7 separate regions of the Homo sapiens genome follow, and regions 1, 3, 4, 5, 6 and 7 are each linked to region 2. The links are contacts of gene promoters, found by promoter capture Hi-C in blood cells and fetal thymus (Javierre and others, 2016). All regions are on one chromosome and are shown on one strand. Each heading gives the region's core, a stretch centred on a gene start or on the middle of the fragment in contact. The rest is flanking DNA. Distances are from core to core; before and after follow the strand shown. Region 1 overlaps PRRT4 (proline rich transmembrane protein 4). Region 2 holds the start of LRRC4 (leucine rich repeat containing 4). Region 3 overlaps IMPDH1 (inosine monophosphate dehydrogenase 1). Region 4 overlaps SND1 (staphylococcal nuclease and tudor domain containing 1). Region 5 overlaps FSCN3 (fascin actin-bundling protein 3). Region 6 overlaps SND1 (staphylococcal nuclease and tudor domain containing 1). Region 7 overlaps SND1 (staphylococcal nuclease and tudor domain containing 1).

Evidence for each region. Contacts are between HindIII fragments. The CHiCAGO score rates a contact against its expected background, and 5 or more counts as called.
Region 1: a contact is called between a fragment that was not itself captured here and the fragment with the promoter of LRRC4 in region 2, in 1 of 17 cell types (neutrophils). The highest score is 5.5, in neutrophils.
Region 3: a contact is called between a fragment that was not itself captured here and the fragment with the promoter of LRRC4 in region 2, in 1 of 17 cell types (neutrophils). The highest score is 5.5, in neutrophils.
Region 4: a contact is called between a fragment that was not itself captured here and the fragment with the promoter of LRRC4 in region 2, in 14 of 17 cell types (M0 macrophages, neutrophils, M2 macrophages and 11 more). The highest score is 14.3, in M0 macrophages.
Region 5: a fragment that was not itself captured here is called in contact with the fragment with the promoter of LRRC4 in region 2 in 1 of 17 cell types (M2 macrophages); the score reaches 6.1 in M2 macrophages.
Region 6: a contact is called between a fragment that was not itself captured here and the fragment with the promoter of LRRC4 in region 2, in 1 of 17 cell types (M2 macrophages). The highest score is 5.7, in M2 macrophages.
Region 7: a fragment that was not itself captured here is called in contact with the fragment with the promoter of LRRC4 in region 2 in 9 of 17 cell types (M0 macrophages, M1 macrophages, neutrophils and 6 more); the score reaches 9.5 in M0 macrophages.

What each region holds. Positions count from the first base shown.
Region 1 is chr7:128,347,891-128,351,875 of GRCh38, reverse strand. PRRT4 (proline rich transmembrane protein 4) reads left to right here. Exons shown (of 6, transcript NM_001174164.2): 6 at 1-1,551. The coding sequence ends at 1,020. Among named protein-coding and RNA genes, the nearest start is that of RBM28, 6.0 kb to the right of the region's middle. The HindIII fragment of the contact is 5,699 bases long and covers 1-3,985 here.
Region 2 is chr7:128,029,224-128,033,066 of GRCh38, reverse strand. LRRC4 (leucine rich repeat containing 4) reads left to right here and starts at 1,630. Exons shown (of 2, transcript NM_022143.5): 1 at 1,630-2,154; 2 at 2,327-3,843. The coding sequence starts at 2,427. All of the region lies in intron 16 of SND1 (staphylococcal nuclease and tudor domain containing 1), which reads right to left. RefSeq lists silencers at 347-416, 1,067-1,186. The HindIII fragment of the contact is 11,709 bases long and covers 1-2,114 here.
Region 3 is chr7:128,392,976-128,396,895 of GRCh38, reverse strand. IMPDH1 (inosine monophosphate dehydrogenase 1) reads left to right here. Exons shown (of 17, transcript NM_000883.4): 12 at 201-296; 13 at 1,622-1,765; 14 at 1,863-2,007; 15 at 2,297-2,440; 16 at 2,535-2,618; 17 at 3,868-3,920. The coding sequence ends at 3,889. Among named protein-coding and RNA genes, the nearest start is that of IMPDH1, 15 kb to the left of the region's middle. The HindIII fragment of the contact is 1,822 bases long and covers 1,091-2,912 here.
Region 4 is chr7:127,721,096-127,725,225 of GRCh38, reverse strand. SND1 (staphylococcal nuclease and tudor domain containing 1) reads right to left here. Exons shown (of 24, transcript NM_014390.4): 10 at 3,826-3,939. Among named protein-coding and RNA genes, the nearest start is that of SND1, 71 kb to the right of the region's middle. The HindIII fragment of the contact is 3,235 bases long and covers 993-4,130 here.
Region 5 is chr7:127,601,145-127,604,908 of GRCh38, reverse strand. It overlaps FSCN3 (fascin actin-bundling protein 3), which reads right to left. Exons shown (of 7, transcript NM_020369.3): 7 at 2,765-3,286. Among named protein-coding and RNA genes, the nearest start is that of FSCN3, 9.3 kb to the right of the region's middle. The HindIII fragment of the contact is 3,939 bases long and covers 1-3,461 here.
Region 6 is chr7:127,679,431-127,683,429 of GRCh38, reverse strand. The region is part of intron 1 of SND1 (staphylococcal nuclease and tudor domain containing 1); the gene reads right to left. Among named protein-coding and RNA genes, the nearest start is that of SND1, 29 kb to the right of the region's middle. The HindIII fragment of the contact is 4,364 bases long and covers 1-3,999 here.
Region 7 is chr7:127,739,606-127,743,439 of GRCh38, reverse strand. The region is part of intron 10 of SND1 (staphylococcal nuclease and tudor domain containing 1); the gene reads right to left. Among named protein-coding and RNA genes, the nearest start is that of SND1, 89 kb to the right of the region's middle. The HindIII fragment of the contact is 2,490 bases long and covers 112-2,601 here.

The DNA.
Region 1 (3,985 bases), core at 424-2,923, 320 kb before region 2:
GCCCCGGTGGCGGGCACCTTCGGGCTGCTGAGCGGAGCCCTGCAGGGCTATGAGGTGCTGCACGCCCTGGGCTACGGCGGCCAATCCGGCCTGGAAGGGCCCTGGCCCTGGTGGGCCTTCCAGCTAGGCCTGCGCCTGGGCGAGGTGGGCGTCGCGCTCCCGTTGGCGCTGCTGGGCCTCTACCCGGCGCTCTGCAGTCCTCGCGTGCCGCCGCGCTGCTGGGCCAAGCTCTTCCGCTTGTCCCCGGGCCACGCGGCTCCGCTGCTGCCGGGAGGCTGGGTCACTGGGCCCCCAGACAAGGAGCCCCTGGGGAGCGCCATCGCTCGCGGGGACGCGGAGCTGCTGCAGCTGTGCGCGCTGGCAGGGCCAGGCCCAGACCTCCTACTCCAGGGCGGAGGTTGCCGGGGCTTCGAAGGCGCGGCGGCCAACCCGGCCCCGTCCCCGGCTTCCTCTCCCTGCAGCGATTACACCGTGGACTTCCGCCCGCCCTCCCCAATCAACCTGCGACGCAGCATCGAGGAGGCCCTCTGCAGCGAGGCCCTGCTTGCGCCTGGCCTCTTCCAGGGCCCTGCCTTCGAGGACGCTCTGCCTGGGCTCGGACTCTACCGCACCGCCTCGCTGGGGACCGGGGGCAGGGCCAGTGAGAGATCAGGGGAGGCCTCTGGCCCCGCTGCGCCCCCGGAGCTCCCCTCCCCTGGGGCTTGGCCCGCAGGCAGCAGCGTCTCATCTGGCTCGTTCTGCGGACTCTCGCGGGACAGCTCGTCCATGCTGCTGTGTTCCAGCCCCGACAGGCCCCCGCGCTGCCCTCTGGTCTGCGTCCTCAGTCCCCCGCGGCCCTCAGGAAGCAGCCCCAGCCTCCCGGCCTCAGGATCCTACCAGGCCCTGTCCCCACCCTCTCGCGACTCCCCAGAGCCTGCTTCTGAGCTGCAGGCCGAGGAGGCCTTGCTGCAGGAGCAGTTCCTGGACGCCTGCCGACAGATCGACGAGCTGAGCGTGGGCAGCGACACCATAGACCTGTGAAGAGGTGGCCACCTTGCTACCCTGCGATATGCCCCTTTCTGGCGCCTGCCCTGCCCGAGACCTGCACACTGTAATCCTTCCCCAATCCTCCCTGGCTCAGATACCTCTCCAGATTCCTTCCCCATCCAGGGGTCCCTGGGTGGGTGGGTCAGCAGCCAGGCTCTATCGATTGGGAATCAGTGCCACCTTCTCTGGAGCCCTGGGTGCTGATGCCCTCAGCTGCAAATCTAGGTTGGCAGGGGTCCCATTTTCCTTGGCATTCACCAGCAATAAAGCTCCAAGGTGCTCCACTCCTGACCACCACTCCCCACTCTGGTGCTGAGTGAGAGGGGCTGTCCTCAGAGGACCCTGGGACCTGCCTCAGGCCCCCCTACCCACCTCTGCCATGCCTAGGAATCCCACCCCTGTGTGAATGGGACTCCCTTTCCTCCATGTGACACCCACAGGGGTCCATGACCCATCTAGGAGACTTTATAGCAGTTGGGTGGGAGGGGAATGCTCTTAATTTATCAATAAAATATTTTCAGAGGAGCAAGGTCTGACTTTTTTGGGAAAACTCAATTGAGCAACAGCACCAGTGATTCCATCACTAGTGGAAGAGAAGCAGCTCTTGGGTGGGGTGGGTCCATTCCAGACCCCAGGGACCTTCATACAAGACCAACGAGTCTTGTCCTGTTTCTGGGATGAGTGGGGTTACTGGGAGCAGCCCCTTGAAGACTCTTCTGAATCGTTGGGAAGTGGCTTTTCACAGAGATGGGACATCGCCCTGGGAGGTGAGGCAGAAACTCTACTGTCATTGGTGGAAATGCCTGCATTCTTAGGAGTTGGCTTCAGGTCCTGGTAGACAATTGGCTGGGGACTAGTTAGGAGTCAAGTCCTTCATGGAAATATTGAGACGCATGTAAAAGGTCCTGGTCACCTTGAGCTGGGATCCTCAGCAGCCTCCCTGCCATGTTCCCACAGTTTGGGATCCACAAAGAGGAAACTACCTTTCTACCTTTTCACCCACCAACAGGGGCTCTTCAACCCCCTCCCCCTTCTCCTGAAGAACTCTCATCTCTAATAGGTGCAGATCCTCCCTGGAGAAAGCCTGTCCAGCCCAGCCAGCTCCTGTAGCAAAGTTCACAGTGAGAGACCCACAAACACATCCAACCACCAGGCACTCTGTAATCCCTCCCTTGCCTGGAGCATTTGGCTCTGCGCTCTGTGGTGTGTGTTTGTCATTTGGCTAAAATGCGGTGGTTCCGAGTAGCACAAAAACAGGGTTGTGGATTAGGTTTGAAAACAAAAATCTGACAGTGTTTTGGCAGCTGTCCTGCATATCACAGGGAGACCTGCAGGAGCATACACACTAGGCTCAAAGTGGAAGCACAGGAACCTCGTGATTTTTTTCTTCCAACTTTGCCCATCAGCTCCTGGGGACTGGAAGGGAGGCTTGGGAGCCAAGAGGGAAGCAGGCAGGGAAGCCAGGAGAGGGTAGAGCCCTTGGCCAGACCAGGTCCAATGCAGGAGTGGAAGAATTCAAGCACTACTCTCCTTGCAGATGAACATCTGTCTTGGCTGAGAGGAGCGTCCAGGGCCTGGGACCTCAGATGGAGGAGGAGAATCAGTTGTGTTTGGAGGAGAGAGAGAATCATAGTGGGGAAGAGAAATGGGAGGGAGGTGGTGCCGGTGCGGTGGAGGGATGGGACTAGAATGGTTTTGATTGCGTCTCCTCCATCACCTGGCTCAGAAATTCTTGCTGCATCCTCACTCTGGGCTGAGGCCCAGAGAACTGCCAACCTCCTAATTACAGGCATTTCTCACTGGTGTCATAGTGGCTGCAGTGGGCCCAGCATCAGAGTTGCTTTGTGTCATGCAAGGATTGTTGCTGCTCTGAGAAACTGCTCCCTTTCTTTCCCACTCACTCTTCTATCTGCCTCTCATCTGCCTCTGCTCACACTCAGCTCCTCGATGCCATCTCTTCCTCACACTGGTCCTTGCCAGCTCCTGTCTCTCTCACTCACTCTCCCCAACAAGGGTCCTTGGGTTCATGCACACACTTCCCGAAAGAGCAGTCCAAGCCCTGAATACCCTAGCCAGTCTCTCTGTTGGCCTGTCTATTGGTCTCTCTCTCTCTCTCTCTCTCACACACACACACACACACACACACACACTTCTGCACATACACTCCTTTTCTGTATGGCAGCTCTAAATGGAGTTGGGGGGAGGCAGGAGGGAGTTGAGGGAATACAGCTCGGTGTTCACCAGCTCCAACACTTCTTTGATTTTCCTCAGCAAGGATAACCTCAGCCCTTTTACTTCATAAAGAGGCCAAGATTTTGTTTAGAGGATCCTTTCCTTTTGTCTCATGCCTCATCCCTTACCCAGAGTGGGTTTCCCAGGAAGAATCCAGGTAGATCCTAATGCCTACACCCTTCAGTTCCAAGTCTTGGTATTGTGGGGACTGAAAGACAAACTCACATTCATTCATTTATTCATTCATTCAATCTCTTAAAGAATATTTACTGAATGCCTATGACGTACTAGGTGCTGGGAATAGACAGGTGAACGAGGTAGACACCAGCCATGAATTTACGAAATTGAAAGCCTGTTGGGGGAAGGCAGATGTTAAACAACTAATGACATAAATAATCACAATAGCACAAGTAATTAATTATAGTTGTGACAAGTGTTAAGGCCAAGAACTATTCTGTATTATAAGAAGGTTTAGCTTGCCAGGGGGAGTGGAGCTAGAGGGATGGGATCTGGAAGAGGCTGGCTGAGAACAGCCCAGGCCTCTCTTACTTCCTTTCCTGGCTCCTGCACAGTGATGGATGAGGAGGAGGCCAGCAGTTTATTTCCCCTGGAAGCCACATTGCTGGTGTGATGCAGGGTAGCACAGCACCTGCTATTTAATAAAGATTGCTGCATGTGTCTTGGGTAGATGGATGAGCAAATATTCCTGAGGAAAGAACCATTGCCT
Region 2 (3,843 bases), core at 381-2,880:
TTCTCTGGGGGCAGCGGGGAGCAAGGGGCGACTCCGGCCAGCGAAGACTGAGAAGCCGCGGCTGCAGCTCCATGAATGAACGGGCTGTGTCGTGGGCTCCGGGAGTTCACCTCAATCCTTCCTGCCGGCCTCTGTGCTGTCCCAGGTTGCCATTCCCCAGCTCATCACACTTGGTCATTCCTGCCACTGTTTCCCGCCCCCGCAACCCTCATTAAGGAAACCCTCATTTAAAGCCCCAGTGAGAGCACAGGAGGGGTGAGGCAAAGCGAAGGAGGGGCTGGCGGCAGTGCAGCAGCGAAGCCCGGGCTCTCGGTCCTGGGAGCCTCGTGGCCCCGGCCGCCGTCCCCCGAGTCCCCACCACGCAGTTCCGAACTCCGAACGCGAGTCCGCGCCCCGTCAGCAGTCAGCGGGGGTGAGGATGACGCGGGCCGGGCGAGAGGCAGGCCAAATGCAGCAGCCCCGCCGCGGGCCGCCGGGCCCCTGAGCCCCGCTCTTCAGAGCCAGGGGGCCCCGGGTGCGGGCCGGAGGGCGGGGGCCGGCGCGGGCTCTCCCGCCGCAGCCCCGCGCCGCTCCAGCCTATCAGCGGCCACCCAACTGCTCCCTCCGACCGGCCCAAAATAGCTGCGAACGCCTGCGACTTGCGCGCGGCCCCTCACTTGACGCTCACTCCGGCTCGCTCGCCCGCTCGCCCTGGCCCCGCTCCGCTCGTCTAGAGGGGGCGGGGAGGAAGCGGCCCGGGGAGGGGGGAGGGGGGAGGGGGAGAGAGGAAGAGAGGAGGAAGGAAGGAGGAAAGAGGAAGACGGGCGGCCGGAGGCGCGGGGCTGCGCGGCGCCGGCCGGCGCGGCGCTGGAAGGCGCCGGCGTTAACCCCGCGAGGCAGGCGACGGAGGGGGAGCGGCGCTAATACATAAGAGCACTGCATCACGCTAATCTTCTCCCAGAACAGTATGCGTCAGCAGTACATTCACGTTCTGACTGAAGGACAAAAGGATGAGAGAGCAGTCTGCGTGGCTGCCGCCTGCAACACCGCGAGCCCGGCGCGAGGAGGAGACGGTGGGCGCCGCGCGCAGGGGCCCCGCTGCTGCTGCTGCCGCCGCTAGCCAGCGGGGACTATGTTCCTGGGCTCCGGAGCGTTTCCCGCAGCCGCGACCCCCGCTGCTCACGCCGCTGCAGCAGTCCGCTGGCGGCGCGGCCACTGAGGGCGCCGGGAGCCGAAGCCGCGAACTCGCTCCCTCCGCACAAAGCCGGAGCCGGCGGCGCGCCGGGGGCCGGGCAGCGGCGGGCGGCGACGGGCGGTTGCGCGCCGCCGGGGGCTGCGGCCGCCGCCGCCGCCGGACCCGCGCCCGCCCCCGGACTCTCTGAAGGGGCCTGCGGTGCGGGCGCGACCGCGGGCGCCGCGCGCTCCTCCGGCCGGCGGACCGGGTCCGAGCGCAGCCGCCACGCCGCTGGTCCTCGGGGGCCGGACGGAGCGCCGCCCCGCGTGCCGGCAGCCGGCGGACTGGAGAACTGACCCCCCGTTTTTGTCTCTTCCACCCTCCGAGAAGAGGCGAGGAGAAAGGGGGTGTGTGTCTGGGGAGGGCGAAGGCGCCGCGAACACCTCCTCTTAACTCTCGCCGCTCCGCGAGCTCACGACCGCAATCAGCTGCCGCCGGCCCGGAGCGGCCGACGCCGGGAGAGGGAGCGCAGCATCCAGCGAGTGCGGCCTGGGCGGCTTCGGGGCGCCCCCGCACTCCCTCCGGCGGCGGCCCGCAGAGCGGGCCGGGGCCGCCGGAGCGCACTTTGGCGATGAAGCGCCTTCCCCCGCGGCTGGAGCGAGCCGGTGCCAGGGTCCAAGGACAAAGCCGGGAAGCGCTGGTGGCGCCGCTCCTTGGGCGGAGGGGGGGGCATGCACCTGCATAGCCCGCCGGGCCTTGGCTCTCCCAGGCGCGCCTCAACTCCGCGGCTTCGCCGGCTCCGGCTCCGGATTTACTAGAGGCCATTTTGTCTCCCCCACCCCTTCCCTCCCCTCCCCTCCCCTCCCCTCTGCCCTCCCCGCCCCCACCACTTCCCCCTTTTGTTAATTAAAACTAAGAAGTCGGAATGGGAACGAGGTGCCCAGCTCCCGTGGAGAAAGCTTAAGGACACCACGCCAGTGCTTTCCTGCCTTCCTTCCGAGGTAGGTGACGGCGAACTGGGTGGGGACGGTTGCAGTGTGGGAGAGTCGTAGCTTTCGGAGGGCTTGCCTTGAGGGTGGGTTGGGAGACCAGGGGCCGCTCGAGTTTGGCAGGATTTTTTTCGGCCGATCCGCTCCGTCTCTCTAATCGCCCCCTCCCCACCTCCTTCTCCAGATGGAAAGAGGAGCTCCTAGCTCACTTAAGCCGGGGTAGGGCTGGTTCTCCTTTCCGAGCCAAAATCCCAGGCGATGGTGAATTATGAACGTGCCACACCATGAAGCTCTTGTGGCAGGTAACTGTGCACCACCACACCTGGAATGCCATCCTGCTCCCGTTCGTCTACCTCACGGCGCAAGTGTGGATTCTGTGTGCAGCCATCGCTGCTGCCGCCTCAGCCGGGCCCCAGAACTGCCCCTCCGTCTGCTCGTGCAGTAACCAGTTCAGCAAGGTGGTGTGCACGCGCCGGGGCCTCTCCGAGGTCCCGCAGGGTATTCCCTCGAACACCCGGTACCTCAACCTCATGGAGAACAACATCCAGATGATCCAGGCCGACACCTTCCGCCACCTCCACCACCTGGAGGTCCTGCAGTTGGGCAGGAACTCCATCCGGCAGATTGAGGTGGGGGCCTTCAACGGCCTGGCCAGCCTCAACACCCTGGAGCTGTTCGACAACTGGCTGACAGTCATCCCTAGCGGGGCCTTTGAATACCTGTCCAAGCTGCGGGAGCTCTGGCTTCGCAACAACCCCATCGAAAGCATCCCCTCTTACGCCTTCAACCGGGTGCCCTCCCTCATGCGCCTGGACTTGGGGGAGCTCAAGAAGCTGGAGTATATCTCTGAGGGAGCTTTTGAGGGGCTGTTCAACCTCAAGTATCTGAACTTGGGCATGTGCAACATTAAAGACATGCCCAATCTCACCCCCCTGGTGGGGCTGGAGGAGCTGGAGATGTCAGGGAACCACTTCCCTGAGATCAGGCCTGGCTCCTTCCATGGCCTGAGCTCCCTCAAGAAGCTCTGGGTCATGAACTCACAGGTCAGCCTGATTGAGCGGAATGCTTTTGACGGGCTGGCTTCACTTGTGGAACTCAACTTGGCCCACAATAACCTCTCTTCTTTGCCCCATGACCTCTTTACCCCGCTGAGGTACCTGGTGGAGTTGCATCTACACCACAACCCTTGGAACTGTGATTGTGACATTCTGTGGCTAGCCTGGTGGCTTCGAGAGTATATACCCACCAATTCCACCTGCTGTGGCCGCTGTCATGCTCCCATGCACATGCGAGGCCGCTACCTCGTGGAGGTGGACCAGGCCTCCTTCCAGTGCTCTGCCCCCTTCATCATGGACGCACCTCGAGACCTCAACATTTCTGAGGGTCGGATGGCAGAACTTAAGTGTCGGACTCCCCCTATGTCCTCCGTGAAGTGGTTGCTGCCCAATGGGACAGTGCTCAGCCACGCCTCCCGCCACCCAAGGATCTCTGTCCTCAACGACGGCACCTTGAACTTTTCCCACGTGCTGCTTTCAGACACTGGGGTGTACACATGCATGGTGACCAATGTTGCAGGCAACTCCAACGCCTCGGCCTACCTCAATGTGAGCACGGCTGAGCTTAACACCTCCAACTACAGCTTCTTCACCACAGTAACAGTGGAGACCACGGAGATCTCGCCTGAGGACACAACGCGAAAGT
Region 3 (3,920 bases), core at 752-3,251, 360 kb before region 2:
CCCCTCCAATGAGTAACCCTTTTCTGTCCTTCAGCATCCCTAGGTGATGGTATGGCTCCTGGCATGGGTGGCAGGGAGCATGATGGGCTTTGGTCACTGTAGGGGGGTTGGGGGGTGCTAGACTGGGGTCCCAAGAGGCTGTTGGGCAGGCAGGGGCATCCCATCCTCACATTGTTCCTCTGCCCCATCCCCACCCCCAGTGGTGACAGCAGCCCAGGCCAAGAACCTGATTGATGCTGGTGTGGACGGGCTGCGCGTGGGCATGGGCTGCGGCTCCATCTGCATCACCCAGGAAGGTGGGTGTCAGGAGGTGAGCGAGTGCCCGCTGGCCCCGGGGCCTCGCCTTTGTTCCCCAGATGTATATCAAGTACTCTCTCTGCCAGGCCCTGTTCTGCCATGGTAGGCTCCGGGGTGACCCAGGCATGGGCCCCACCCCATCGGGCCCACTGACTTAGGGGAAGGCAGGTGTAAGCAGGGTGCAAGAGCTGCAGCCTGCTTCTCAGAGTGCGGTCAAGGGGGCTCTGCCTGGGGCTTGGGGCCTGGGGCTGGTGTGACTGTCCATGGGGCTTGTTGGAACCTCAGGGTTTGGATTTGATTTGTGACAAGGCAGATATTTAAGACACAGAGACGACATGTCCCTGAATATATAAAGATATGTTATACACCTGCTTCACCATGTGGTTGGGCGTGGGGAGTTCCACCCAATTACAAAGCCCTTTTGCAGGGTGGGTTCCTGAACATGAAGTGGGAAGGGGGGAGCCTGGCATGTGTCCCCCATGTGGTTATTGAGGAGGTGCTCCCTGGAGGCTGGTATCTGACTTGTGGGGTGGCTGCCTGGAAGACTTGGGTCCTCACTTGGCCTGAGGAGATGTACCCGGCCCCTCCTGTGAGGGCAATTTCTCCAAAACACTGAGTGATGCATTTGGCCTTTCCTACCCCAAACAGCTCCCCCTTTTGGTCCTCAGAGCCTCTGCTATTTAGGTTTGTGCCCTTCGCCTTAGGTGGCCACCATGGTGAAATGAGGGCCCTCTCTCACCCACTTAACAAATATTCATTAGGCACCTACTTGTCTCAGGCACTGTTCAAAGCTTTGAGGTAGAGTAGGGACAAAACAAATGAGAGGCGCCATCTCTGGTTTATCCAGCTTTGCATCCGTCCCTAGACAGGTGTGGTTCCTTGTAGTCCCCACCTAAAACCTAACACTGAAGGACCTTGGACACTTAGACTTGAAGAAATGCAAACCAGTATCCCAAAGGGGACCATAGTACCTAACCCTGGTAACGGTTTTTGCAAACAAAAGCCTTGAAGGGGAACTTGTGCCTTGAGAGCAGGTGAGGCTGGGGCCACCTGTCTGGGGGCATTGGGCTCTGAAGGCCGCTTCTGGTTCCCCCGTCAGAATCCCCTGTCATGCTCTTAGGGGTGGGGTGGCCCAGATCCCTAGAGTGACACTCATCCTGGTGGTATTTGCCAGCACCTATGTTATGCCTCAGACACACCATCCAGCCCTGTCCCTTTTCCTGAGTAGAGGTAGTGCACAGGAGGAAGAGCTGGGCTGGCCCCGCTCCAGGCCCCGGAGTTGCTGTTGACTCTTCTCTGCCTTGTGCACCCCACCCTCCCCCAGTGATGGCCTGTGGTCGGCCCCAGGGCACTGCTGTGTACAAGGTGGCTGAGTATGCCCGGCGCTTTGGTGTGCCCATCATAGCCGATGGCGGCATCCAGACCGTGGGACACGTGGTCAAGGCCCTGGCCCTTGGAGCCTCCACAGGTGAGGGGAGAATGTGCTGGGGATTGGGCAGGCGAGGGCTGGAAGCTGGGGGGGTGGCACTAGTGGGCTGGAGGCACTAATCCCTTGCCCACTGTAGTGATGATGGGCTCCCTGCTGGCCGCCACTACGGAGGCCCCTGGCGAGTACTTCTTCTCAGACGGGGTGCGGCTCAAGAAGTACCGGGGCATGGGCTCACTGGATGCCATGGAGAAGAGCAGCAGCAGCCAGAAACGATACTTCAGGTTCCCTGACCCTGGGCCCCACCTGGGCAGATCAGCCCACAACCCTTCAGGGCCCGCTCATGCCACCGACTTCCCCAGATGGCAGCCAGTCCCCATATGGTGGTTCTGGAAACTGAGGCACAGGGCTTAAGTAGCAGACCCAGGATCTGTCCCTGGGCCATCTGACTCAGCCCAGTGAGGGGTGGCCTGGGGGACCTTCCTGGGCGGTATCCCGTTTTTGCCCTTAAGAGGTGGGGTGGGGTCCTCTGAGCTTCAAGCTGCTGGGCTCAGTCTTCCACCCTCCACGCAGCGAGGGGGATAAAGTGAAGATCGCGCAGGGTGTCTCGGGCTCCATCCAGGACAAAGGATCCATTCAGAAGTTCGTGCCCTACCTCATAGCAGGCATCCAACACGGCTGCCAGGATATCGGGGCCCGCAGCCTGTCTGTCCTTCGGTGAGTGCTGAGACTGGGGGTGGCTCCTGCTTCCTTTCTCTCGCTCTTCTCCACCCTTGGTGGCCCTGATCTGCTCCACCTACCTTCCTCCTAGGTCCATGATGTACTCAGGAGAGCTCAAGTTTGAGAAGCGGACCATGTCGGCCCAGATTGAGGGTGGTGTCCATGGCCTGCACTCGTAAGTGTGGTGGCCTCCTTGCTGTCACTTGGAGGCAGTGGGTTGGGCAGGTGGGGCCAGGGTTCTGAGGTCAAGCTGAGGTTCCAGGGACCCCATGGACCACCTGCAGCAGGGACAGATGCTGCTGCAGGATGGCCCCTCACCCTCTCTTCGGGGGCCCAGCCCCCTGTTCCTTGTCCTTTAGTCCCCATGCAAGCAGGCCCTCCCCTCCCCTCGGGCCTCTCCCGAGCAGGGCACAGGAGGTGTGGCCAGTCACTGCACCTGGACTCCCAGCCCTTGCTTGCTCAGGAAGCTTGGTGGCTGGTGGCAGGGGCTGTGGTGGCACCAGGCAGCCAGGCAGAAGATGCGGGTGTGACCCCTCTGGCGGGTACAAGGGCAGAGAGATGGACGCCAGGGCCAGCGCTGGGGCAACCGTGGGCGGGGGCAGTGCTCGTTGGCAGCAGTAGTTGCAGGCATGTGCCCCACCCTGGTCAGGAGCCCTGTCCCCAGGTATCAGCGGGCGTCTAACCTGTGTCTCTTTCCGCCCCACCCTTCCGTAGCTATACCTTTCTGCCGTGTAAGTAACCGCGCTGCCCGGGCCAAGCGTAGAGTAGAGCAGGGGCAGTCTGGGTGGGACCTGGGCTGGAGGTGGGGGTGGGTATTGGGTGGGGGTAGGAGGGTGCTGGGGTGTAACCATGAGATGTGGACCCTGGGTTTGGGCCCCCCCGGCCCCCTAACTCCAACACCATGATGGAGGAAACCAGCAGTGTCCCCTCATCCAGCTGAAACACATATCCCTTTCTGGCTGCAGAGAGATGCCCGTGACCTCAGGCCTAAGGCTGCCCCATTTTAGACTGGACCCAGTGACCACAAGCAGCCTAGGCCACTGTGCCTGCAGGGCTGGGGCTGGGTGCGGACATGGGCAGCAGAGGTTCGGCTCCAGGTTGGAGTTTGCTCCATGAGGATGGGCCATGCCTGCCTGAGCTGTCCCTCCACCCTGGGCACTGAGGACATCCACTCAGATGTGGCGATGGCCCAAAGGAGCATGGCCATCTCTGCACCCAGCATGGTTCTTCAGGGAATGCTGGCCTGGGGGAGGACAGAGGCCTAGGGCCTGCTCCAGGCCCTCCTCCTGCGCCGTACGGCTGAGATCTCAGGGCTTCTCAGCTCTCTGTTCTCTCCTACATCTGGGGGCCCTGGGGAAAGGGTTTTGGGAAGGAGCAGGGTCCACACACCCACTCTTGTTCCCCCTCTTGCCTTGTCCCCACAGTTACGAAAAGCGGCTGTACTGAGGACAGCGGTGGAGGCCGAGGTGGTGGAGGG
Region 4 (4,130 bases), core at 1,361-3,860, 310 kb after region 2:
CGTAGTAAATGAAACCAGAAACCTAAGACTCCGAGAGGATGCCTGTTGCTCAGTCTTTAAACACATACAGTTACAGTCACACTAGGATGCCCAGGTGATGTTTCTTACCACACCCATATTGTAAATCTCTGGTAACTTTAACATAAGCATACAGCAGGATCTTGTATTCTTTATAAGAGCTCTGGGGAATTCTTTTTTCTTCTTCTTTTTCTTTTTTCTTTTAGTAATCTCAGGCCAAGGAAAGGGGCAGGGGTTGGCGTGGGGGGATTTCTTTAAGTCAAAAGGCAAGTATAAAGAAGGACTGCTGGAGCAGCATCCATAGTTCTCACTCATCAGCCTGAAAGAGTTAACGTCTCCTAAGACATTAACTCTTCATCATGCCATTTTCCAGGTCTTTGGTCAACTGAAACTTACCAAAAGAAAATCCAGAGTTCCTTGCTAAAGTAAGTTTTTACCAGGCATAATATTCTCTCTATATGCAAACTGCTTTCATATCTTGTAAATTCAAACAACCGAAACAAGAGTATTTTAATCCAAACATGCCACTCACCAATTCAAAATTCTTCAAGACAAAACCTAAAATGCATGGCATATAAGCCTTCAACAAGTGGTCCCTGTCTAACTCCCAGGCCCATTTCTTAACACTCCCCTGAAATTTATCCTCTATTCCAGTCATACAAAATCACTTGCAGTTCATCATATGCCCCATTTTCTCTCTCCCTTCCTGAGTATCCTAAGATGTTCACAGGACATGTTTGATCTGGCCTTGCCTGTGGTTTCGTACCACACAGGTGTCATACCACTCATGCACCGTCCACAGGAGCCATCCATTCTCTAGTCCCCAAAACTCATTCTTGTCATTGCTGCTCTCCAGGTCAGAAACTGTCTTCTCCCACTTTTTATCTAGCTAATTCCTAATATCTCTTCAGGCCTTAAATGTCACTTCCTCAAAGTAGCCTTCCCAAACTATGCACTCTCCTAAACTCTAAGCTTTTCTTTCATAGCACTTAACGTAAATGAAATTACTTGTGTATTTCCCCTACTAGACTCTAAAGTTCCATGAGGCAGAGAAGGGACATCTATTTATTCCCTGCTGCACCCCCAACACAGTATCTGGCACAAAATAAGTATCTGTAAATATGTACCAACAATGACTACCTGTTCATGCAAATTTCTAAAGCTGTGCTATCCATAATGGTAGCCACTAGCCTCATGTGCCTATTGAGTCCTTGAAATATGCTATGATGAATTAAAATGTAGTGCCAATGTACAATACATACCATATTTCAAATATTCAGTTTTAAAAAGGGGAAGAACGTCTCATTTATTTTTCATATTCATTAAATGTTGAAATGATATAATAATTTGGATATAAGTCAAATTTAAAAATTACAATTAATGTTTCTTTTTAGTTTTTTAACGTAGTTATATGATAATTTAAAATAACAAATAGAGCTCACATGTGTGGCTCATATTTATATATCTGTTGGACAGCGCTGGCCTAGAGAGCCATTCCTCCTGTTGACTCACTTCTCATCCTTGACACTCACAAGGTACAGCAGCTGACCTGGGAAGATCACCCAGACCACCCACCAAAACCGGCTACTCTTCAGGGTACCTTCTACCACTACATTCAAGGTTCATTATATTAACTTATTTCTTACGTGGCCCTTCAGTAAACTCTTCCAAAGGACTTTAACAGACAAATAATGGAAATCATTCCTCCATCTTCCTCACAAGCCATATGTTGTAGATTATTGCAGCTAAGTCTTACTTAGAACTGTCTTAAAATGGAGTAAGATCTCAGGAGTGAACAGGAAGAAAAAGAAAGAATAAAGAAAAAAGAAGAAAAAAAAGAGGTAACACGCCTTGTAAGAGACAAGAAATTCTATAATCAGGATTCTGCCTAAACTAGGAAATACTCCAATTCCAACAATTTCCTGTCAGCCAGTAGGCTAAGGGAAATGCATCGTTTACCCACTGATGAGTTCCAAAGGATACTGGGACTAAAAATACTCAGTAGTAGGTTAGTGCTTACTTCAGAAAACCTGCTATCATCCTACCTAAGCTATAACACCCCCATCCCCCTAAAAACTGCTTAAAATTCAGCTATATAGTCTACATTAACATAATGCACTGGCTGATGATACAGGCACAAAAATTAACGTTCAAGAATTTCAAAGTTGTGGTTGCTGTGGGAACCTTAATTCCAACTGTACGGCACAGATGCAGAATTGTGGACTACTCCCAATACTGATAAAATTGGAGATGTGTATTTACTCTGTGCAATGAGGCAGAGCTACAGTTACTGAGAGAACCTTATTTTGGCATTTCTAGGCTTTCATACATTTAAATTCTCAACCTTACCATAATACTGTTTGCTGCATTAAACTGCCTCCTCTAAGGGAAAAAAAGAGAGAGAAAGAACTGATTGGCCAGACATTCAAATCACCCATCCTGTACGTGGTTTTTATGTATGATCTGATTCAAAAGACAATCATATTTTTATTTTACTCTTACGGGCTGTCTATAAACTCTCACACAAATGAAAACAATGCTGAATTTCAACTTGTGAATGCACCAAGATATGTATATGTGCAAAACATCAGAATAGCAAATTTCACACCTTTAGAACCACTGCACCCAACTTATCTACCTTTTTTTAGTTATCCCTTTATACAAAAGGGATTTTTTTTATCCCATCCTTTTTGTATAAAGGCATAAATAAAAAAAAGGTAGATAAGTTGGGTGCAGTGGCTCACACCTATAGTCCTAGCTACTCAGGAGGCTGAGACAGAAGGACTGTTTGAGCCCAGGAGTTTGAAGTTGCAGGGCGCAATGATCACACCTGTGAATAGCCACTGCACTCCAGTGTGGGCAACATAACAAGACCCTGTTTCTTAAAAAAAAAAAAAAAAGCAGGCAGTAGATAGTACACACAGCAGTAACTTCAATCCACAATAGTTAATTACTGAAAACTGTCCAAATGTTTGCCTTTGGCGCTGGCTCTCACTGAGGAACTAGTTCTATAACTAGTTAACATAATCACACAGTTTAGTTATCAGACGACAAAAACAGAAGCGGGAAAGACGTCTGTAAAAATATGACATAACCAAATCCCCAAAAATTTTCAACCTTAATCCCTATTCCCAATTCTCATAACTCTTATGGCTACATAACTGTCATGACTACAAAAAAAAATCAGTCTATCTGCACATGTAATACCAGCTCTTGTTAGAGTTTTCATACAAAGCATTTCTCAAAAATGATATACCTGAGTCATACACCAACCTATCTGCCAAAAGATCCAAAAAATAGCAAACAGTTTAACTACTAATTAGAGTTACTACCTGCAAAAAATGAGTAGGTGACCCCAGTGAATACATATACCAAGATTCATTTCTTCCTAGAGCAAAAACATAAAGAACTATCAAATCAAAATGACCAGCAGAAACGGGTCCTATTACAATGTACACGAGATACAGACCTTCTCCTCTCCTTATTCACAGAAAAATAAGATCTTGTTAATTAAACTCATCCACCATCTCACATATCCCAACCCTCACTGCACTCAAGCCCCCTGGGGAGAAGTGCCAACAGTGCCCACGTGAAATTCGGCAGAGCAGTGGGTGTGGGCCACAAGACACTGAGACCTGCCCAATAGTAGTCAGGCTATAAATATTAGAAAATAATACTGTGGAGATTTAAAATACTTGTCCCTTTGCATTCCCACATATATGTATTATATATGTCATATATTAATCAATTCTCCAACTTCTTCCTTTTGGTTTATGCAAAGAGGCGCGGCTGCTTCCCTATTCTCACCTGGGTGTTCTCCCCCTCCAGCCTCGGTGGTCGGATGCTGGACAGGTGAATCGTCTTGTAATCGCCTGAGTTCAGCTTCACAACAATGGCATCAGCATTCAGAACCTGCATCACCTGTGAGCAAAAAGGAACATGCTTAAACCTGCTTCTATGGCCCCCATCACATGTCCAAGAGCAAGGCCCACCACCCTCACAGGTAGAAAGTGAGATCAATAGCCATTTGTGGGAAAAACAGTATCATCCTTCATGGTGCAACAATGTCAGAGAAAACTATGCTATAATTATCAGTTCCCAGAGACCTTATT
Region 5 (3,764 bases), core at 243-2,742, 430 kb after region 2:
TAGATAAAACAGGCTTCTATTAGAGGATTCCATCTAGACTTTTATAACTACACAGGAGAAGTCAATGCCTGATTTCAAAGTTTCAACAGACAGTCATTGACTCTCTTGTGAGGAGCTACTGCATCTGGTGACTTTAAGTGGAAGCCAGTGCTCATTTATCATTCTGAAAATCCTAGGGCCCTGAAGAATAATGCTAAATCTACTCTGCCTGTGCTCTGTAAATGGAACAACAAATCTTGGATGACAGCACATCTGTTCATGGCGTGGTTTATGGAATATTTTAAGCCCACTATTGAGACCTACTGCTCAGAAAAAAATATTGATTTTAAAATATTACTGCTCATTGACAATGCCTTAATTGAGAGGTAACCCAAGAGCTCTGATGGTGATGTGTAAGGAGATTCATGTTGTTTTCATGCCTGCTAACCTAACATCCATTCTGCAGCCTGCAGATCAAGGAGTAATTTTGACTTTCAAGTCTTAGTATTTAAGAAATACATTTTATAAGGCTATACCTGTCTTACATTAGTGATTCCTCTGATGGATCCAAGCAAAGTAAATTGAAAACCTTCTGAAATGAATTCACCACTCTAGATGCCCATTAAGAACATTCATGATTCATGGGAGAAGGTCAAAATATTAATAGTAACAGGAGTTTGGAAGAAGTTTATTCCAACTCTCATGGATGAGTTTGAAGAATTTAACACTTCATTGGAGGAAACCACTGTAGATGTGGTGAAATAGCAAGAGAACTAGAATTAGAAGTGGAGCCTGAAGATGAGACTGAATTACTATAATCTTGTGATAAAACTTGAACTGGTGAAGAGTTGTTTCTTATGGAAGAGCAAATAAAGTGTTTTTTTTTTGTTTTTTGTTTTTTGTTTTTGTTTTCTTTTTTAGACAGAGTCTTGCTCTGTTGCCCAGGCTGGAGTGCAGTGGTGTGATCTTGGCTCACTGCAAGCTCTGCCTCCCGGGTTCACGCCATTCTCCTGCCTCAGCCTCCCGAGTAGCTGGGACTACAAGCGCCCACCACCATGCCTGGCTAATTTTTTGTATTTTTAGTAGAGACAGGGTTTCACTGTGTTAGCCAGGATGGTCTTGATCTCCTGATCTCATGATCCGCCCGCCTTGGCCTCCTAAAGTGCTAGGATTACAGGCCTGAGCCACCGCGCCGGGCCAGAAAGTGGTTTCTTGAGATGGAATCTACTCCTACTGAAAATGCTGTGAACATTTCTGAAATGACAATGGAAGATTTAGAACATTACATAAACTTAATTGATAAAATAGCAACAGGGTTTGAGAGAATTGATTCCAACTTTTTAAGAAGTTCTGCTGTGGGTCAAAAGCTATCAAACAGCATCACACACCACAGAGAAATCATCTGTGAAAGAAAGAATCAATCAGTGCAGCAAACTTTATTGTCGTATTTTAAGAAATCGCCACAGCTACCCCAACCTTCAGCAACTATCACCTTGATCAGTTAGCAGCCATCAACATTGAGGCAAGATCCTCCACTGGCAAAAAGATTATGACTCACTGAAGGTTCAAATGATCATTAGCATATATATGTATATTTTTGAGATGGAGTCTTGCTCTTTTGCCCAGGTTGGAGTGCAGTGGCGCCATCTCAGCTCACTGGAACCTCCGCCTCCTGGGTTCAAGTGAGTCTCTTACCTCAGCCTCCCGAGTAGCTGGGATTACAGGCATCTGCCACCACACCCGGCTAATTTTTTGTATTTTTAGTAGAGATGGGGTTTCAAACATGCTGGCCAGGCTGGTTTTAAACTCCTGACCTTAAGTGATCTGCCTGCCTAGGCCTCCCTAATGCCCAACGCTAGGATTACAGGTGTGAGCCACTGCCCCCGGCCGATCATTAGCATTTTTTAGCAATAAAGTATTTTAAAATTAAGGTATGTACATTGTTTTTAAGACATAATGCTATTGCATACTTCATAGTATACTGTAAGCATAATTTTTATATGTCTGGGGAAACCAAAAAATTTGTGTGACTTATTTTATTGCCATATTTGCTTTATCACAGTGGTCTGGAACTGAACCCACAATATCTCTGAGGTATACCTGTATTTATTTTTATAGTCATTTTCCACTTATGGTAAGTGATACTGGTTTTCCATTTTATGATAGTGAAAAAATATTCCTTTCTAAATAAATGTATTTAAGAGTCTATGTCAATAAAAACATTAATAGGGCAGATGGTAGGTAGATAAAGGCCAAAATCACAAAAACAGTGTAAGAATGACAGACATTTTGGAAATCCTGCTTTGACTGAAAGAATGGTGGACATTAGAGTTGGATTTGAGTCAGAAGCCTAGCTGTGTTGTGATTAGTCATGAGATCTTGGGCAAATCACTTTTGCTGTCTGTGAAAGGTAAGAAGTCTGCCGGTCACGGTGGCTCACACCTGTAATCCCAGCACTTTGGGAGGCCGAGGCGGGTGGATCACCTGAGTTCAGGAGTTCGAGACCAGGCTGGCCAACATGATGAAACCCCGTCTCTACTAAAAATACAAAAAAAAAAAAAGTAGCTGGGGTGGTGGCGGGCGCCTGTAATCCCAGCTACTTGGGAGACTGAGGCAGGAGAATTGCTTGAACCCGGGAGGCGGAGGTTGCAGTGGGCCAAGATCACACCACTGCCACTGCACTTCAGCCTGGGTGACTGAGCAAGACTCTGTCAAAAAAAAAAAAAAAAAAAAAGGTAAGAAGTGGTGGAGGAAGTACCCACTTCACTGGAAAAAAGGTAATGATGGGTGGGGAAGTTAAATAAATCGTGGTAGGAGGAGGTAAAGTGGCCTATACAGGCATAAGGTGTTATTACCATTATCCTGTGCTCACGAGATTAACAATCTTTCCTTTTTTCTAAACCAAAAAGATATTTAAAGTCATAACTGGATTCTAAACCCTTCAGGGCAATGCTGGCTGCTCATGGGTTCACTGGAAAAAGTCTAGCAGTTCTGGATGGGGACGGGGAAGATCAGTGGAAGAACTGCTTGCCATTTGGTCTCTCCTGTATAGAACTTAGAGCAGCCTGGGGTGTCTGTTTCAACCCTCATCCAGACCCCTATTCTATATTGAGTCAGATGCACACAAGGATCTTGGGGGTGGCCTGTTGTGATGTATTGTTGCATAAAACAGGTGTTTTGCTAAACTGGGTAGGAAAAGTTGTAACAGATGTTCTTCTCTTGGATCTTGACTCTGAGGTTCCTGGTCCATTTAGTGTAGTAGTTTTTCCTGGAGGATTTGGATTTTGGTAGGTGACATCCCATTGACCTGGAGAGGAAAGAGGAAATATAAATGGTCAGCAATCAAGTCAGTCATTTGCTGATCTCTGGCTTTTAGAATACTGGGTCAGATCCTGTGGGAGAAAAAGAATATAGTGATTTATCCTATTCTTGATGAGGGATCCACCCTAGACACATGTGAAGTTAACTTAAAGGAAGAAGCTTAATAGCTCTTGATTCCAGGTCTGTGTGATGTAAAAAACAAAGCACTTTGCACAATAAGTCAGGAAAGTGAGGTCCATTAGGAAGGGACAGGACAAAGAGCAACAAGGTGCCCTGAAGAGTGTGAACAGGGAATGATGGAAGGGAAGCGCCACGTTATAAAAGCAAACTGTGGAGATGAGATTGGATGTCGGAGATGAGATTGGATGGACAGATCTGGCAGCAGGAAATGCTTTCGGGGAGCCCTAGAAGCAGTGCTTCTGGAGAAAAGCCTGGAGCCAAGTGGTGGCAATGGTAATTAAGAA
Region 6 (3,999 bases), core at 869-3,368, 350 kb after region 2:
GCCTGGACAACACAGCAAGACCTCATCTCTACTAAAAATCAAAAAAAGTAGCTGGGTGTGGTGGTGCACATCAGTAGTCCCAGCTACTTGGGAGGCTGAGGTAGGAGAACCGCTTGAGCCTGGGAGGTCAAGGTTGCAGTGAGCCATGGTTGTGCCACTGCACTCCAGCCAGGGTGACAGAGCAAGACTCTCTCTCAAAAAAACAAAGAAACAAACAGAAACACACTACACCTCCTTTTTGCTATTTCCACTTCATCTGCCAACCACTGTTAAACTCTCCCACCTGTCTTACTCGCCAACAGTCTTTATTCAAGTTCTTCCTCAATGAAAACATTGTAATGGCCTTCTTATAGCTAACAGTCGCCACCAAATAAAACCAATGAGAAATACCTTCTGGGGGAAAAATACTTTAAATGTCTGGGTAAAATATGAAAAAGGCCAAGGGTCTATATGCTCAACAATTTATATGTCATATGGCACCAAAACAAGCCGTTTTTCTTCTCAGAAAGACCTGCCAGGTTGATTATTGTTATAATTTTATTCCTTGATTTATTCAGTTATTAATTCACTACAAACTTACTGAGTGCCTACTATGTGCCAGGCATTGTTCTAGGCAAGTGGCATGTTTCAGTGAAACAAAGCAGACAAAAATTTCTGCTCTTGGGGAGCTGACATTCTAGTAGGGGGAGACAGACAAACAATAAACATCACATGTAAGTATAATATGTTGTTTACCAGAATTTTAATTTCAGGAGAATAATGTTAAGATTGAGAAGAAACTGTCATAGGTAATTAGTCTGCCAAAGCTGTGCTGATTCATGTTGCAAACTTTCATGGATGCAGTAATTATCCTTAATTGCTAATTTATAGAGCACAGAAATCAAGTCAAATGGTTACTGCTTTATGCAATTATATTAATAAACTGACATTCTAGAAAAATGATCTTAGAACTACCTGATACAGCAGGAGGTTTGTGAAACCAGGTGTCACAATAAGTCAGTTTGATTGAGGTTATGGATTAGACATTTCTCAGTTCTGCCAATAAAGGTTGCAGAGGGACGTGGTGTGATTCAAAGGACCTGGCTTCAGGGCACAAGTCACGTGGTTACAAAGGCTGAAACAAGGCAGCTGAGAAGGAAAATTGGGGACTCAAATTGTTCAAACCCACTTATGGGTTTACTGGGAGATTTACCTACAGTGAAACACTGTATGGGCAGCCACTAAAATGTTGCCCAGCAACAGGAACACCACATTAAATCTTCACTAGATTCTGATAAATGACTTGGTTTGTTTAACTATTTAACTCCTGGGCCAATGACACAACAAGACAGAAAACTTCTTATACAAAAACCCAGCCATACTAAGGGCAAAGAAAAGGATGGTACAGAAATTTGTATGTCAATGAAGCCAATATTTTTTCCCAGCCCAAGAGCAAAAATCACTTTGGTCTGAGAATGGCATCTTACTAGCTCTGCAAAGAGGACTGGTTTAACGGGCATATCCACTAGTTAAGATAGTATAGTAGGTATACTGTAACAGCAATATCTACCTGTGTGAAGAACCAACATAAAGAACAAGGGCAGACATCTGATGACAAATATTACAAAAAGAAGGCCCAATACAAATCCATACATTTATGGCCCACTGACTTTGAACAAGGGTGCCAGGATAATTTGATGGGGAAAGAGTAGTCCTTTCAACAAAAATGTGTTGGGACAACTAGATCTCCATGTGCAAAAGAATGAAGTTGGCCCTCTACGTCATACCATATACAAAAGATAACTCAAAAAGGACCAGAGACCTAAATTTAAGAGTAAAACTATAAAAGTCTTAGAAGAAAACAAACCTGTAAATCTACATGGCCTTGCATTAGGTGATGGTTTCTTAGGTGACACCAAAAACACAAGCAACTTAAAAATAAATAAATAAATTGGACTTCATAAAAATTAAAAACAGTGTGCTTCAATGGACACTATCAAGAAAGAAAAAAATATGAGTATATGCAAATTCTGAATACTAGACTCTTATCTCATATATCTGACAAGGGTCTAGTATCCAGAATAAAGAACTATCATAATTTGATAAGAAGACAATAGCCCAATTAAAGTAAGTTGAAGAGACATTTATCCAAAAAATAAATATAAATGTCCAAAAAGCACATGAAAAGATGCTCTTCATCATTAGTCATCAGACAAATGCAAATCAAAGCTACAATGACATATCACTTTACCACCACTAGGATAGCTAAAATCAATAAGACAGGCAATAACAAGTGTTGACAAGGATGTGTAAAAACTGGACCCCTCATACATTATGGGTGGTGTAGCTGCTTTGGAAAAGAGTCTGGAGGTTTCTCAAAAGTTAAACAGTTATCATATGACCCTGTGATTTCACTCCTAGGTGTATATGTTGCGGGAAGTCAGGCACCCCGAACGGAGGGACCAGCTGAAGCCATGGCAGAAGAACGTGGATTGTGAAGATTTCATGGACATTTATTAGTTCCCAAATTAATACTTTTATAATTTCTTATGCCTGTCTTTACTGCAATCTCTAAACATAAATTGTGAAGATTCCATGAACACTTATCAATTCCCCAATCAATACCCTTGTGATTTCCTATGCCTGTCTTTACTTTAATCTCTTAATCCTGTCATCTCGTAAGCCGAGGAGGATGTATGTCGCCTCAGAACCCTGTGATGATTGCGTTAACTGTACAAACTGTAGAGCGTGTGTGTTTGAACAATATGAAATCTGGGCACCTTGAAAAAAGAACAGGATAACAGCAACGTTCAGGGAACAAGAGAGAGAACCTTAAACTCTGACCGCCGGTGAGCCGGGCGGAACAGAGCCATATTTCTCTTCTTTCAAAAGTAAATAGGAGAAATATCGCTGAATTCTTTTTCTCAGCAAGGAACATCCCTGAGAAAGAGAATGTGCCCCTGAGGGTGGGCATCTAAAATGGCCCCCTTGGGTATGGCCGTTTTCTACGGTCGAGACTGTAGGGATGAAATAAGCCCCAGTCTCCCATAGCGCTCCCAGGCTTATTAGGACGAGGAAATTCCCACCTAATAAATTTTGGTCAGACCAGTTGCTCTCAAACCCTGTCTCCATATGTTATCAATGACAATGGTGCCTGAAACTTCATTAGCAATTTTAATTTCGCCCCAGTCCTGTGGTCCTGTGATCTCGCCCTGCCTCCATTTGCCTTGTGATAGTCTATTACCTTGTGAAGTACGTGATCTCTGTGACCCACACCCTATTTGTACACTCCCTCCCCTTTTGAAAATCCCTAATAAAAACTTGCTGGTTTTACGGCTCAGGGGGCATCACGGAACCTACCGACATGTGACGTCTCCCCCGGATGCCCAGCTTTAAAATTTCTCTCTTTTGTACTCTGTCCCTTTATTTCTCAAACCAGCCGACGCTTAGGGAAAATAGAAAAGAACCTACGTGACTATCAGGGGCAGGTTCCCCGATAGTATATATCCAAGAGAAATACAAACATATGCCCACACAGAAACTTGTACACCAATGCTCATTGCAACATCATTCATAATAGCCAAAAAAAGAGAGAAAACAATAAATGTTCATCAACAGCTGTAACTGGTGATAAAATATTGTATATCCATACAATTGGAATATAATTCAGAAATAAAAAGAGATTGCGTACTGATTGATGTTACAACATGGGTGAGCCTTGAAAACATTATGTTAAGTAAAAGAAGCCAGACACAAATGGCCACATACTGAACTGTTCCCATTATATGAAATGTGCAGAAAAGGGAAATCCATAGACAGAACATAGACTAGTGGTTCCCAGGGACTGACAGAAGGGGAGAGTGGGGAATATACTAATGGATACAGATTTCTTTGGAGGTGATGAAAATATTCCAAATTAGTAGTGATTGTTACATGATTGTAGTAAAAAGCCACTGAATTATATACTTTAAAAGTGTCAACTTTATGGTATGTTAATTATATCTAAAAAAAAAATTTTAA
Region 7 (3,834 bases), core at 107-2,606, 290 kb after region 2:
TCCCTGACATCAGAGCAGTGACAGTAAATGTTTGCTGACATTCAGCAAAATGACAAGGGCTGCCTGAGGAGAAGCCTTCACAAAATGTCTAGGTAAGAGGCAAAGAAAGCTTCAAGGGAAAACACCTTGCACACCGAGGTTCCCACAGACTGTAGAGGAATCTCTTCAAATTGAAAACATTCAAACATGTACCTAATGACCAACACCTGGCAGGTTTGTGGGATTTGGACACTCTTACAATTTAGTTCCATCCCTTGTAACAGGCTCACCATCAATTTCCACCAAAAAAGTTAAGTTTGTTTGTCTGGGTAGGAGATTGGCTTCTACAACAATGGGGATGGCAAAAGAGTTTACAAGGAGAAAACAGAGACAAAAATTCCTGAAGCAAGAATAAAATGGGGGTGGGGGGTTAACATGTTAGTTACCTCCATAACTGTGCCCAGTGATAAACAGTCTCTGCATGCCCTGTACTTTGGTTTCTACCTCACAACAGATAAACCAGGAACACCACTAGAATCCAAGTGGTAAAGAACAAGTCAAAGGGGATTTCTTTCTCCTTTGAATGCCCACACCACTTGGGGTGTGTCCCTCTTGCATCTTATCATAAGCTGCCTTGATTAGCATGTGCTTGAGTTATTCCCACCACCACACAGTAGGGGCTTCATCTTGCATACCTTTGTGCCCCTCCTCATGCCTAACACAACACTCAGAGGAAAGAAAGACGAAGAAACCACCCGATGAACTAAACTTTTAGAAAATGACTACACAGTTAAAACATTCCCATGGGCCATTCTTTGTGGAGCACTTTCACACAAGAAAAGGTACATGGTACTTGCCGCCATCCCACTACCCACCCGCCCATATCTTCTACCCTATTAGTATGACAGACAGGCATTAATAGGAAGTTTTTCCTACTCTAGATTTTTAAAAAGGAAAAAAAAAAGTATTGCAGGAAAAACGAAGGTGAGTAGGGTTCAGTGGATCTGGAATAATAATTCTCCAAAGAAGTCATCCAACAGGGAGGTTTCCGGCCTCTTCAGAATGTGAGTTACTATCTCTAGTGACCCTCAGGGAGAGTGACAGTTGCAGAGGCTCAAAGCTACTGAAAATGACACTAATTCTGCCCTTTGGTGACACCACAATGGAAAATGAGAAATACCCTTTAATTTGATGCAATTTAAACATCAGCCAGAGACACATCTTGGTGGCACAAGTTGTCCTCTCGACTCATCAGTTCTGGCTTGGATCAGCCCAGTGTTCATGCAGACTTTCACACTAATGCTAACATTACAACATCCTTCTTCTAAGAATACCTAGGCCCAGCTACCAGCTGCCCATCAAGTAGATCTCTTCACTAAGGATTAGAAAGAACACCTTTCTGAAGTCCCTGCAAGACTTACCTTCTGGCTAAGAAAAGCTAGATTGTAAATCTTAATGCTCGGTTACCAGAAAGGCATTCTGGGAAACTGTCCAACCTGATAGGGACAGCATTCAAGTTGAGAACAATTGAGAACAATGTAACAGAGCCCAGCAATTTCAGGGTATTAGATTTAATAACAAGGAAACCCTTACCTCACTCTCGGGAAACACTGAGGGGATTAACAATAAGACTTTTAAGGAGATCTGAGCTACCCCAAAAGAACACTAAATAAGCATATAGTGTCATCATTTATTAAAAGCAAAGTTCAAATAGAGGAATCTACTGTGTTCCATTCTAACAAGTGGGCCTTTTAAAGTCACCTGCAGAAGTGAAATGATTAGGTCTCCTAAGGGCCATAACAGGTACACAACGGAAGGCAATGTTAGCAAAGAGTGAGGAAGGAGGAGAAAGGGCTAGTAGAGAAGCACCTCACCAAGCAACAGTCAACACAGGGGCTTGCAAGCCTCTTTCAGAATTAGAGTCACCTGCGGTACAACAAGGCCTGCACTCCACTCCCAGAGATTTGCTTTAATTATTTTAGTTGAGGCCTGGGCAGTGGTTGTTTTATTTTGTTCTCAAGTTCCCCCAGGCGATTTTAAGGTAAAAGAACAAGTACACAAACAAAAAACAAACAGGTAAAGGACAAAGGGGGAAAAGGGCATTTCAAGGAGCCATCTTATAAAATCACATTCAATATTTAAGAGTCATTTTAGATTTTACTTCTTGAGAAAGTTAATTATATATAAGGCAAATCAAGCCTGGAATGAAATTTACCCACCTAAGTATCCTGATTATGTTACAGGTATTCTTACGGGAGAATAAAAGTTTCCCAGGTAAGTTTCATAAATCAGGCCACATTATGGCTCTTAAGGAAACTACTGGCACAAACTATAGGACAGAGAAGAGAAGTCAGACACTATTATTATGTTAATGGTTTTCTCTCCCTACTTCCAGAGGAGACAGAGAAGTAATAAACCTTTTCAAGGAAAGAGCTTTCCAGATGGGAAATATTTAAACTCATCGTTAAAGAAATGAGTGGCTATGACATCTTTATTATGGAATAAGTAAAAATTCTCCAAAGTGTAAAAGAATATGATTACTTTATATAAGTCTTAAAGCAGGCTAAACAACATCTGCATCTATAAGATTTGATTTGGTTTTGATGTCATCACTTTCAAGCTTAAGACTCCCATCCAGAATCAATCTCACCAGATTTCCACTTCTACCACAGACACCCAGGACACACTAAAAAGTGGTTCTCAATCCTAGCTGCACATCAGAAGCATCTGAGGAGCTTTGGAAGGTGGAGGGAAGAAAAGCTACTAGACCACCCCCCACCCCCTTGGAAATTCTGATTCAGTAGACCTGGGGCATGTACACTAATTAAGAGCTACCTGGGTGATTTCTGATGTGCAGACTGGGGTTGAGAGCTGCATTAAAAGCATCTATTCTTAACATTTTTCCTCTGCATTATTCTGCTGATTGAGCCATGTTGCTACAGAGTCAGACCCAAAGCAGGCAATAATCGGTTCTGCTGCTTGATACACAGATGAGTTGCTGTGATTCTTTGGGGACTCTAATTTTGTGGAGTTGAGACACTGATGAGTTCATGGCTTTGTTTCTCATTAGTCTTTTATTTCATTCCAAGTTGTGTGTGCTTTTTATTCCAAATCAACACATGAAAAATAAACGCTTAAAAAAATACCCAAGCTACTTGCTAAAGAAAATGGCTTTTTTACAAACCTTATCCATTCAATAGATGCCTAATGAATAAAAGAAAGGTAGTCCACACAAACACACACACAGCCAGACATGTGTCCATTACAAACAAATATAGCCAGTTACCCTTACAGCAGGAGAGGTTACAGAAAACTGTTTTGCCCTGAACCTTAAAACAACACCTAGAATCTGTGCTTGCAGGCAGCGAGAATTTAATCATGGACAGCAACCTGAGCACAGACTTAGCAAGGGCGAATCTGCCAGCCAGAAGTGCAACTGTTTATGCTGGCAATAAGAAAGGGGAGAAGAGAACAAGCATTGTGCATAGGATGTCTCTCCACTCAGAGGCTCTCTTCTAGTCAACCTTTTACCACCATGACTTTAAGACTTGGGCCAAAAGAATTTCCAGAGACCACATATCAGAGACCACTCTCATCAGCCCCTGCCTGATTCCTTGTCCAGACAGAGGCAGGTGCTAAAGAATGTCTGAAGCACCTTGGCCAGCAATTTAACCATGTACTAAACCCTCAGACCTAGGACAAGAAATAGGCTTCCAGGGCAAGAGGACCAAGTCCAACTTGGAATGTGGCATTTTACTTCTACATCTCTTCCATGGCTGTCCCTGGGAATCAGGAGTCAGGATGCTGAGTCTTAGCTACTAATGCACCATATGCCCTAAAATGAGTTACACTCTC